Linked DNA regions of Homo sapiens: region 1 is linked to region 2. Evidence: promoter capture Hi-C in human tissues and cell types (Jung and others, 2019). All regions are on one chromosome and are shown on one strand. Each heading gives the region's core, a stretch centred on a gene start or on the middle of the fragment in contact. The rest is flanking DNA. Distances are from core to core; before and after follow the strand shown. Region 1 overlaps MACROD2 (mono-ADP ribosylhydrolase 2). Region 2 holds the start of SEL1L2 (SEL1L2 adaptor subunit of SYVN1 ubiquitin ligase).

What was found. Contacts are between HindIII fragments. The study calls those that stand out against the background at their distance.
Region 1: a fragment that was not itself captured here is called in contact with the fragment with the promoter of SEL1L2 in region 2 in 1 of the 25 tissues and cell types used here (mesendoderm cells).

The regions. Positions count from the first base shown.
Region 1 is chr20:14,034,080-14,039,401 of GRCh38, reverse strand. The region is part of intron 2 of MACROD2 (mono-ADP ribosylhydrolase 2); the gene reads right to left. Among named protein-coding and RNA genes, the nearest start is that of MACROD2, 41 kb to the right of the region's middle. The HindIII fragment of the contact is 5,742 bases long and covers 1-5,322 here.
Region 2 is chr20:13,986,366-13,992,131 of GRCh38, reverse strand. SEL1L2 (SEL1L2 adaptor subunit of SYVN1 ubiquitin ligase) reads left to right here and starts at 1,518. Exons shown (of 20, transcript NM_025229.2): 1 at 1,518-1,655. The coding sequence starts at 1,598. It also overlaps the pseudogene TRE-CTC10-1. The HindIII fragment of the contact is 28,140 bases long and covers 1-5,730 here.

The DNA.
Region 1 (5,322 bases), core at 1,246-3,745, 46 kb before region 2:
CATCATTCTTTTCAGTACCCCAGGAAAGTTTTGTTTTTGTTTACCATTTTGGTATGGCAGGTTCACCAATTTCACAACTTTCCAAGATACCAATTTACTTCAAATATAATCAAGTACTCCTAAAAGTTTTCCATGGAATGAATTAATACAACCTTCATGGTCTCTAGGATGGTCAACCATAATTTATGTGAAATTCTTTGCTTCTTAAAAATCATTTAGTTTCAACATAAAAAATTTTTAAAAGCTGAAAATTTAAAGTACTTAATATTTCCACCCTCACCAATCTTTAGAACTAGAAATGGTACTTTAAAAGAGTAATACTTTTATGTGTAGCTTCACAAACACCCTGGTAAAAACACATACATATGTTAATACTCCAGTTTGAGAAGCAAGTTCATAGAGCATGCTGATAAAATTTGTAAAATATAGTTTATCTTCAATATGGCCCATCCTACCAACTTAAAAAAATGGTGACTGGTTAAAAAATCTAAGGAAGCAAATTTGTTTTAACGTTCAACAGATCTTAAGTGCAAATATGGAAACAAGCAGAATTACAAGAAAATGTGAATGAATGAATGGCTACTTTTTTTTAATGGTATAAATTTATATTCATTACACATATACTTGCTGAGACAACGTTCAGTGATTATTAGCAAAGTTATTATATACAACAACTTTACCTTTTCTAATACTTGTTTGTTAAATTAAAAACATCATGGCATTATGAATTATAAACCACAAAAACGACATAATGCACAGCATAAAATACCACATCTTTCCAAAAATCAAATATAATTAGTAGTAAAGACATAACGCATAAACACACCAGCAATGCTTTCAGGAAACAAAAGGCAGCATTAACAAAGGTGAAGAGGATAGAAGGTCTGGGTTCAAATCCCAACTTTGCCACTCAACAGCAGTATGACGTTGGGCAAGTTCTCTAACTTCTCTGTGCCTCAGTTTCCTGATTTGTAAAAAGAAATAATAATTGTACTTACTTCATGGAGTTATTGTAGTCATTAAATAAGTCAATATTTGTAAAACACAACTATACCTGGCACACAAGTGCTTTATGTGTCTAATACACAGAATCTTTTTTTTTTTTTGAGACGGAGTCTCTCACTCTGTGGCCCAGGCTGGAGTGCAGTGGCACGATCTCGGCTCACTGCAACCTCTGCCTCCTGGGTTCAAGCAATTCTCCTGCCTCAGCCTCCTGAGTAGCTGGGACTACTAGCACCCACCACCACACCCAGATAATTTTTGTATTTTTAGTAGAGACGGGGTTTCACCATATTGGCCAGGCTGGTCTCAAACTCCTGACGTGAAGTGATCCACTGCCTCGGCCTCCCAAAGTGCTGGGATAATAGGCGTGAGCCACTGCGCCTGGTTTTTGTTTGTTTGTTTTTTAATTGAGACAGTTATCTCGCCCCCGTACCCTCACAAGCTCACTGCTGCCTCCCGCTTCTGGCCTCAATCCGCCCACCTCAACCTCCTGAGTAGCCGAGGCTACAGGCTCGCACCACCATGCTGGGCTAATTTTCTTGGGGTTTTTTTTTGTAGAGACCACATTGCACAGGCTGGTGTGGAAATTCTGGGCTCAAACCATCCACCCGCCTCAGCCTCCTCCCAAGGTGCTGGAGTAACAGGCATGAGCCACTGCACCCAGCAAGGAACAATGTCTTAATTCCAAGGGAATGTTTCCCTTTATCACCAACCTTCATCAATCCTTAGCTCCATGGTTACTAACTACCCCCCCCACCAACACACACACAGTTGGCGTGTTCACATAGATTAGCGACATCACTGAGTTAAATTCAAAAATAAAATATCCATTCCTTTGAGCTGGGTAAATGCATAGTCTTCAATCAAAAAATATGCATCCCTTACTAAGATTACCAAATAAATATTTTCACGTCCACCAATACAAAATATTGGTATCTGTTTATAACTGCATGAAAGAAGCCTTTACTAATTACTGAATAGGACATTGGTATTCATTTATAATTGCATGAAAGAAGGCTTTATTAATTACTGAATAGGACACTGTAAAAATATTTCTATAATTGTAGAATTTTTATAGAAACCTATAATGCATTAAATTCCCATTATTACATGTATTTTGGCCAAATTAATGATGCCAAAACTAGTAAATTCTACAAAATTGCAATCATGTTTTCATCATTTATGATTTGTCCATATTTTGGAAGAGTGTGTAACAATACAAAGAAGGCTCTTATACATCTCAAGGCTACCTTTCAATATAACCAGGTATATAATACCCTTTAAAATAAAAGTTACATTTTGGTCATTAAAAAACCATGTTATGCCACATCTGACACGCTTCATTATTTCAAGCTCCACCTAAGCTATGACAAGGTCCCAAGGAGGAAAAACAGAGACCAGTTTAAAAACGTTTTATTTTTAAACTACATTTAAAATTGTAACTTTACCACAAAACGCTGGATTAGTAAATTAAAAACTAATTCCATAATTACTGCAAGTAATCAATGCTGAATAATCAACATGGTCTGGGAAACATGGCAAAACCCCGTCTCTACAAAAAACACAAAAGTGGCTAGGCGTGGTGGTGCACACCAGTGGTCCCAGCTACTCGGGAGGCTGAGGTGGGAGAATCGCTTGAGCCTGGGAGGCAGAGGTGGCAGTGAGCCAAGATTGCGGCAGGGCACTCTAGCCTGGATGACAGAGCAGGGAAAAATAAGGTAATCAATAGATATTTACTAAGTGGATACCAACAACCCACGACTGTGCTAAATATACAGATTCCTCTTAAATGAAAAGCTGAAGTCTGAAGTAAAAGGCAAAGTTACCTTTGTATAAGGCATGAAGATTACAGTGAAACTTCCTCCCACCCAAAATTGATTTTCTATGAGATGAATATAACATCTCTCTTCAGAAAATTTTCTTTGTATTTATTAAGAGAAACCACCGGAAAACACCCTGAGGTGCTTGTTAACAGTGCAGACTCCTGGGTCCTAATTAATACCTACTGAACCAGAATATGCAGGAATCTATGTTTCATAAACACTGAAGTTCAAGTACACTAAGCAAAAATGTACTGAGAACCCAACAGATTCCAGGCATTGTGCTAGGAATGGGAGACTACTAAAATGTTAGTTTCAGTAAATCTCACTTGGGAAGACAAGTAAAGGCTACTTAACCTCATATACAATTCAAAAAGGCAGAAATCGTGTCTTATTCATTATTGAATAACTGCTGTCTGCTAGCTTTTTTTTTTTTTTGAGACGGAGTCTCGCTCTGTCACCCAGGCTGGAGTGCAGTGGCGCCATCTAGGCTCACTGCAAGCTCCACCTCCTGGATTCACGCCATTCTCCTGCCTCAGCCTCCAGACTAGCTGGGACTACAGGCACCCGCCACCACGCCTGGCTAATTTTTTGTATTTTTAGTAGAGACGGGGTTTCACCATGTTAGCCAGGATGGTCTCAATCTCCTGACCTCGTGATCCGCCCGCCTTGGCCTCCCAAAGTGTTGGGATTACAGGCGTCAGCCACCGCGCCCAGCCGCTGTCTATCTTAATGGTATATTTCAAACATGGGCTGGTGATGAACAATTTTGTTTATCTATACTACTTTACCCCTCCATTTCTCTGAATAATTTTGGGAACCGACAGGAAAGAAATGTAAAGGTTTGAATAGGCTTTACTCATATTATGCTGATGAACCATATACGTTATTATTCAGATCAGCCATTCTGAAAAATTCAGAACAAAAAATTTTCCACGAACTCAGAAGTCATGCCCCAGTGTAAAATATCCGTAAGCACTTGAAAATAACTCAACAAATGGCAACCTGTCATATGATGATACTTTAATATGTGGGCTCTGATATTTTACATATTGCTTAGTCATTTACAGGAATTTTACATTACAGATTAATAATTATCCTCACTATATAAATGGGAGAGTTGAGAATACACTGTTTGCACAAGACCACATACTGATATAAAAGTTAGGTATCTTTACCTTCTTGTTAATGTCTAATTAGTAGGCTACTTTCCCTGAAAATAAGTGCTCCTAAACAGTAAAATTACTATCATATTAATTAATACATGAATAAATCTCACTGAATAACAAAATGCATTAAAGTCAAGGCAAGAATGCCTGCTATGAGCACTATTGTTTAACACTGTACTGGTGACCTTAGCTAATGCAAAGGAAAAGAAAGAGAAATAGCAAGTACAAAGCTATAAAAATACTTGCAGAAGCTTTTATCATCTACCTATAAAGTCCAAGAGTATGCCTTAAAAGACTGATGAATAACAGAGTTCAACACCAGTATTTGAAAATCAACACTTACCTATAACTGAGCAATAACCAATTAGGAAATTATATGGTAAAAATGATCATATTCATGGTTAAGCAATAAGCTTAACCAAAACCGATTAAGACCAAGAAGAAAAAAATCATAAAACATAATCTAAGCACATAAAAATGTAAAACTGTGTATAAAATGTATACATACACATCAAGACAATAAGTAAAATGGAAAAAATCTGCAATACATATGATTAAAGGTAATTTTCTTAATGTACAATGAACTCTTAGTTCACTAAGAAAAAACATTTTTTTAAATGAGCAAATGATGTGAGGAAACAATTCATTAAATGAATATGCAACCCACTTAGAACAGTGCCTAGCCCATGTAAGTGCTCAATAAATGTTATTTGTTATAATAAACGGCTGACGAATGTTAAAACAGGTTTAATCTCACTCATGATTTTAAAAATAGCAAAACATTCATACTGGCAAAAATAATGCAGTTGATATAATCCAGTGTTGGTGCTGAGAAATATGCATTTGCATACACTAAAAGTGGGAATATAACGTTGGTTCAACATTTTTAAAGTGGAAACTAAAAACGTCTGTCAATTTGAAATTGCATACCCTAGCAATTCCATGGCTGGAAATTATTCTTACAGACATAAACACAAGAATACAAAAATAAATCTCTAAGAACATACTGTATTAGTTACACTAGCAAAATGAAAATTATTATAATCAAAATGCTTATGAATAGGGGGTGATTAAATAAAACCACAGTACTTCCATACAATGACAGACAATGAAGCCTTTAAAAATAGGTGAAGTAGGGGCTGGACGCGGTGGCTCACGCCTGTAATCCCAGCACTTTGGGAGGCTGAGGCGGGCGGATCACAAGGTCAGGAGATCGTAGCCATCCTGGCTAACATGGTGAAACCCCGTCTCTACTAAAAATACAAAAAGAAATTAGCCTGGTGTGGTGGCGGGCGCCTGTAGTCCCAACTAGTCGGGAGGCTGAGGCAGGA
Region 2 (5,766 bases), core at 269-2,768:
CACTCCCTAGCAAAGCCTTCCCTGACTCTGACCCTACCTGACCTTTGTTTGCCGCTTCCCCTTATATGCCTTCATTGCTCATTGATTTTCCTATAAAGAAGTTTGGGTTTGTTGTTGTTGTTTTGAGATGGAGTCTCACTCTGTCGCTCAGGCTGCATTGCAGTGGCACAATCTCTGCTCACTGCAACCTCCACCCCTCAGGCCCCTGGCCCCAGGATTCAAGCACTTCTCATGCCTCAGCCTCCTGAGTACCTGAAACTACAGGCGCATACCACCACGTCCAGCTAATTTTTGTATTTTTAGTAGACACGGGGTTTCGCCATGGTGGTCAGCCTGGTCTCGAACTCCTGGCCTCAAGTAATCCAACTGCCTTAGGCTCCCAAAGTGCTGGGATTACAAGTGTGAGCTGCCACGCCCAGCCAACATTAAGGATCTTGAGAGAGAGAGAGATTGTTCTGGATCATGTTGGTGGGCCCTAAATGTAATCACAAGTATCTTTATAAGAGGGGCACAAAGGGAGATTAAACTACAGAAGGCAAGTGATGACTGAGCAGAGACTGAAATGATGTGGTCACAAATCAAGGAATGCTGGCAGCCACTTAGAAGCTGAAAAATTCCAGGCCAAGAATGGATTCTTCCCTGGAGCCTCCAGGAGGAGCTAGCCTTGTCTTTGATTTTAGCCCTGTAAGAATGGTTTTGGAATTCTGGTCTCTAGAACTATGAGAGAATAAATTCCTGTTGTTTTAACCCATTACGTTTGTGGTAATTTGTTATCACAGCAATGGGAAACTAATAAAAGGAATAAAACTGTAAATTCAAAACAATAAAATGTCTATTTCTAAAGTAATGACCTGGACAGACTGTAAAAGTTGGATATTTTTTGTAGGCATAATTTCTCAACTAGCTCTGTGCCTTGGATATTTTTAATATTTATATGTTTTCCCTAAATATTCATTTTGATTTCTCGTAGCTTTGAAGGTACCACTTGTGAGATGTCTGTATTATCTGAGGTATGTAAAGACATTGTTAAACAGTCTTTGTTTGCCTTTGTTCCAGTAAATCCTCAGCAGTTTCTAACTGGAAAAGAGGATAAAGATTTTCATCCAGATTGGGAACAAAGCAGACTTGGCCCATTGTTTCTTTTCCGCCATAGCCTAGAGATACCAGCTTACAGGATGATGTCAGATCAGTTCATGTACCTTAATTGTGTTTTTACATAAGTGTAGTTTGTACCTCTAGAGGCAACATAAAAATAAGAACTTCCAGCACCCCTGAACACAGTTGAACGTGTGGACACGTACGAGTCGGACTTCTGGTCCCTTCCTTTCATGTTAGAGAGCCACCCCTAATTTCTAGCCTACCCCTTATCTTCAGCCAGAGGAATAGCAGTGGATCCTTTCCACAGCCTACATTCTCCAGCAGCTGCCTTCATTCCGGCTTGAAAGGAACACTCTGGCAGCCCATTGGCCCAAGAGTAAGGAAATGGTTGCTTAGCAACTGACTCCTGCCCCCACCACAGTCCCTGAGAAGAGGAGCTCTTGGGCCAATCACCTAGTTTCTGCCTGTGTTACAGTGAAGAGAAGCTGCTTAAGAGAAGATGAAGCCCTTGTCTCTGTTAATAGAGATATTGATAATTCTTGGGGTCACAATTAAAAGTAAGTTTTTTTGTCCTTAGAGTTCTCTATGAGGGTCTCTTCTCTTTGCTCAAACAGCGCCAAGGGCAGAAGCCAATTAAAAGACTAGAAGTAACTTTACTATATCCCTAACTAATGCCATTTTTGTACAGGTACTTTAAAATGTCCAATAAGAATAATAGATGATAATGATAGTCTCACTTGGGATAATACTTGGGAAGGGTGTGTACTTGGGAAGGGTGTGGGGGATGGGGAAAAAACAAATCTATGAGGAAACCACTACAGTAATTGTTATAAAGTAGGGATATTTAGGGCAAGTTGTTAAGTGTTATTAAATTTAGAATATCATAAAGGTCTAGTTCCAAGACTTTAAAGGAAAAATATAAGACTCAAAGAGTGTGAAAGATGTATAAACATGCTTTTTTAAAATATTTACACAATAACAATTTCACTTCCAAAGTTTCAATGTTTCCTAAATAGTTACTATCTGAAAATGGAAGTTATTTTCCATCTTGTTTCTTTGGCCATTTTTTTAGTTACTTTTTACCCAATCCTCATATAATGTGCTCATGATAAATTCAATTTAAGAAATATGTATTTGGTCCCTGCTTGTCTAGTGGTTAGAATTCAGCACTCTCACTGCCACAGCCCAGGTTCAATTCCCTGTCAGAGAAAAGGAAAAAAAAAGAAATATTTGGATTTTACCCAGAAATGTAAGATTGGTTTACCACCCATAAATCAATGTAACAATCACATCAACAGAATAAAAGACAAAGATCACATGATCATTCTAATCTAGTAAAAGCATTTGACAAAATTCAACAGGCTTTGTGATAAAAATGTGTGACAAACTAAGAATGGAAGGAAACTTTATCAACCTGATAGAAGATATTGAAAACCCAAAGCTACTATATTTAATGGTGAAAGACTGACTGCTTCATCCCTAACATCAGGAATAAGACAAGGATGTCCACTTTTGCCATTTCTGTTCAACATTGTACTGGAAGTTCTAGCTATGGCAATTACACAAGAAACAAAAGTAGAAGATATCAAGCTTGGAAAGAAAGAAGTAAAATGATCTGTATTCACAGAAGACATGATCTTGTATACAGAAAATCGTATGGAATCAACTACGAAACTATTAGAACTAATAAATGAGCTCCATAACAAATGCAGGATAAATACAAAAAAAAAGTTCTATTTCTATACAGTAGCAGTGAGCAAACCAAAAATGAAATTATGAAAGAAACTTTATAATAGTATCAAAAATGAACTACTTAAGAATAAATTTTACAAAAAAAGTGTGAAACTCATATTCTGATGACCACAAAAATTGTTTAAAGAAGTTAAAGAAGACTTCACTACATGAAAAGACTTCCCATGTTCATGAATTGGAGAACTTAATATTGGTAAGATGGCAATACTCTCCAAATTGATCTACATATTCAACACAATCTTTATTTATTTGTTTATTTATTTATTTTGAGATGGAGTTTCGCTCTTGTTGCCCAGGCTGGAGTGCAATGACGTGATCTCGGCTCACTGCAACCTCCGCTGCCTGGGTTCAAGCCGTTCTCCTGCCTCAGCCTCCCAAGTAACTGAATTACAGTCGTCTGCCACCACGCCTGGCTAATTTTTTGTATTTTTAGTAGAGACGGGGTTTTATCATGTTGGCCAGGCTGGTCTTTAACTCCTGACCTCAGGTGATTCACCCGCCTAAGCCTGCCAAAGTGCTGGGATTACAGGAATGAATCACACCGCATCTGGGCTTCAACACAATCTTTATCAAAATCCCAGCTGACTTCTTTTCAAAAATTGGCAAACTGGTCTTAAAATTCATATGGAAAAAAATGTTCCTGAAAAAGAAGAATGGAGTTGGAGGACTCACACTTCCCAATTTCAAAACTTACTACAAAGCTACAGTAATCAAGACAGTATGGTCCTGATGTGAAGATAGACATATAGGTTACTGGAATGGAATTGAGAGTTTTACAAGTAAACTATCACACTTATCATCAACTGATTTTTGGCAAAGATGCCATGAAAACTCAGTGTGGGAGGTGCAGGAGGAGATAATCTCTCCAACAAATGGTGCTGGGACAACTGGATAACCACATGAAAAAAATGAATTTGAAAAAAATAAATAAAACAGTTTTTAAAGGCTAGGCACAATGGTTCGTATCTGTAATCCCAGCGCTTTGGGAGGCCTAGGCAGAAGGATCACTTAAGGCCAGGACTTTAAGACCAGCCTGGTCAACATAGCGAGAACCTACCTCATCTCTTTAAAATTAAACCAAAAATAAATAAAAATTCATAAGAATGAATTTGTACCCCCACCTCATACCTCATATACACAAATTAATTCAAAATGGATCAGAGACCTACACATATAGCTAAAGATTTAAAACTCTTAGAAGAAAACATAGGCATAAATCTTCCTAACTTTGGATTAAGCAGTGATTTCCTAGATATGCCACCAAAAGCACAAGCAAAAAAGGAAAAACCAAACTGGATATCAAAACTAAAAACTCTTCTGTTTTGGAGGATATCTTCAAGAAACTGAAACGACAACCCACAGAATGAGAGAAAATTTTTGTGACTCATATATCTGATGAGAATTCAGTATTCAGAGTATACAAAGAACCTTACAACTCATCAACAAAATGACAACCCAATTTAAAAATGGGCAAAGAAATTGGATAGAAATTTTCCCAAAGAAGATGAACAAATGACCAAGCACATGAAAGATATTCAACATCATTGGTCATTAGGGAAATAAAAGCAAAAAGCACAATGAGTTATCACATCACACCCACTAGGATGGTTATAATCAAAAAACAGGAAATTATCGGCCGGGCGCAGTGGCTCACACCTGTAATCCCAGCACTTTGGGAGGCTGAGGCAGGTGGATCACGAGGTCAAGAGATCCAGACCATCCTGGCCAACCAACATGGTGAAACCCTGTCTCTACTAAAAATACAAAAATTAGCTGGGTATAGTGGCTCACATCTGTAGTCCCAGCTACTCAGGAGGCTGAGGCAGGAGAATCGCTTGAACCCCGGAGGCAGAGGTTACAGTGAGCCGAGATCGCACCACTGCACTCCAGCCTGGGCAACAGAACAAGACTCTGTCTCAAAAAGAAACCAAACAAAACAACAACAACAACAAAAAAAAAAAAAAAAAAAACAGTAAATTAACAAATTTTGGAAGGATGTGGAGAAACAAGAACCTTCACACATTGCTGGTTGGAATATAAAATGGTATAGTCACTGTGGAAAACAGTGTGGCAGTTCCTTAAAACGTGAAATATAGATTTATTAGGTTGGTGCAAAAATAATTGCGGTGTTGGCATTAAAAGTAATGGAGAGGCCGGGCGCGGTGGCTCACGCCTGTAATCCCAGCACTTTGGGGGGCTGAGGTGGGCAGATCACGAGGTCAAGAGATGGAGACCATCCTGGCTAACAAGGTGAAACCCCGTTTCTACTAAAAATACAAAAAATTAGCTGGACTTGTGGCGGGCACCTGTAGTCCCAGCTACTCGGGAGGCTGAGGCAGAAGAATGGCTTGAACCCGGGAGGCGGAGCTTGCAGTGAGTCGAGATCGCGCCACTGCGCTCCAGCCTGGGTGACAGAGCAAGACTCTGTCTCAAAAAAATAAAAAGTAATGGAGAAAACCACAATTACTTTTGCACCAACCTATACAATGTGACCTATTAATTTCATTACTAGGTATATAACCAAGAGAAATGAAAACATAATATTCACACAGAAATTTGTACACAAATATTTATAGAAGCATTATTCATTAGAGCTTAAAGGTGGAAACAACCCAAATATTGACCAACAAATGAGTAAATAAACAAATTGTGGTATATACATTGGAATATACATACAATGGAATATTACTCAGCCATAAAAAAATGAAGTGCTCATAGGTGTTACAACTTGGATAAACCTCAAAAACAATTGTGCTACATGAAAAAAGCGAGACAAAAGGTTGCCTATTATATGGTTCTTATTTTATGAAATATCTGAAATAGGCAAATTCATAGAGATGGAAAGCAGATTACTGGATTAGGGAATGGCAGAGGGGAGAATGGGGAGTGACTGCTTAATGGGTACAGAGTGTACTT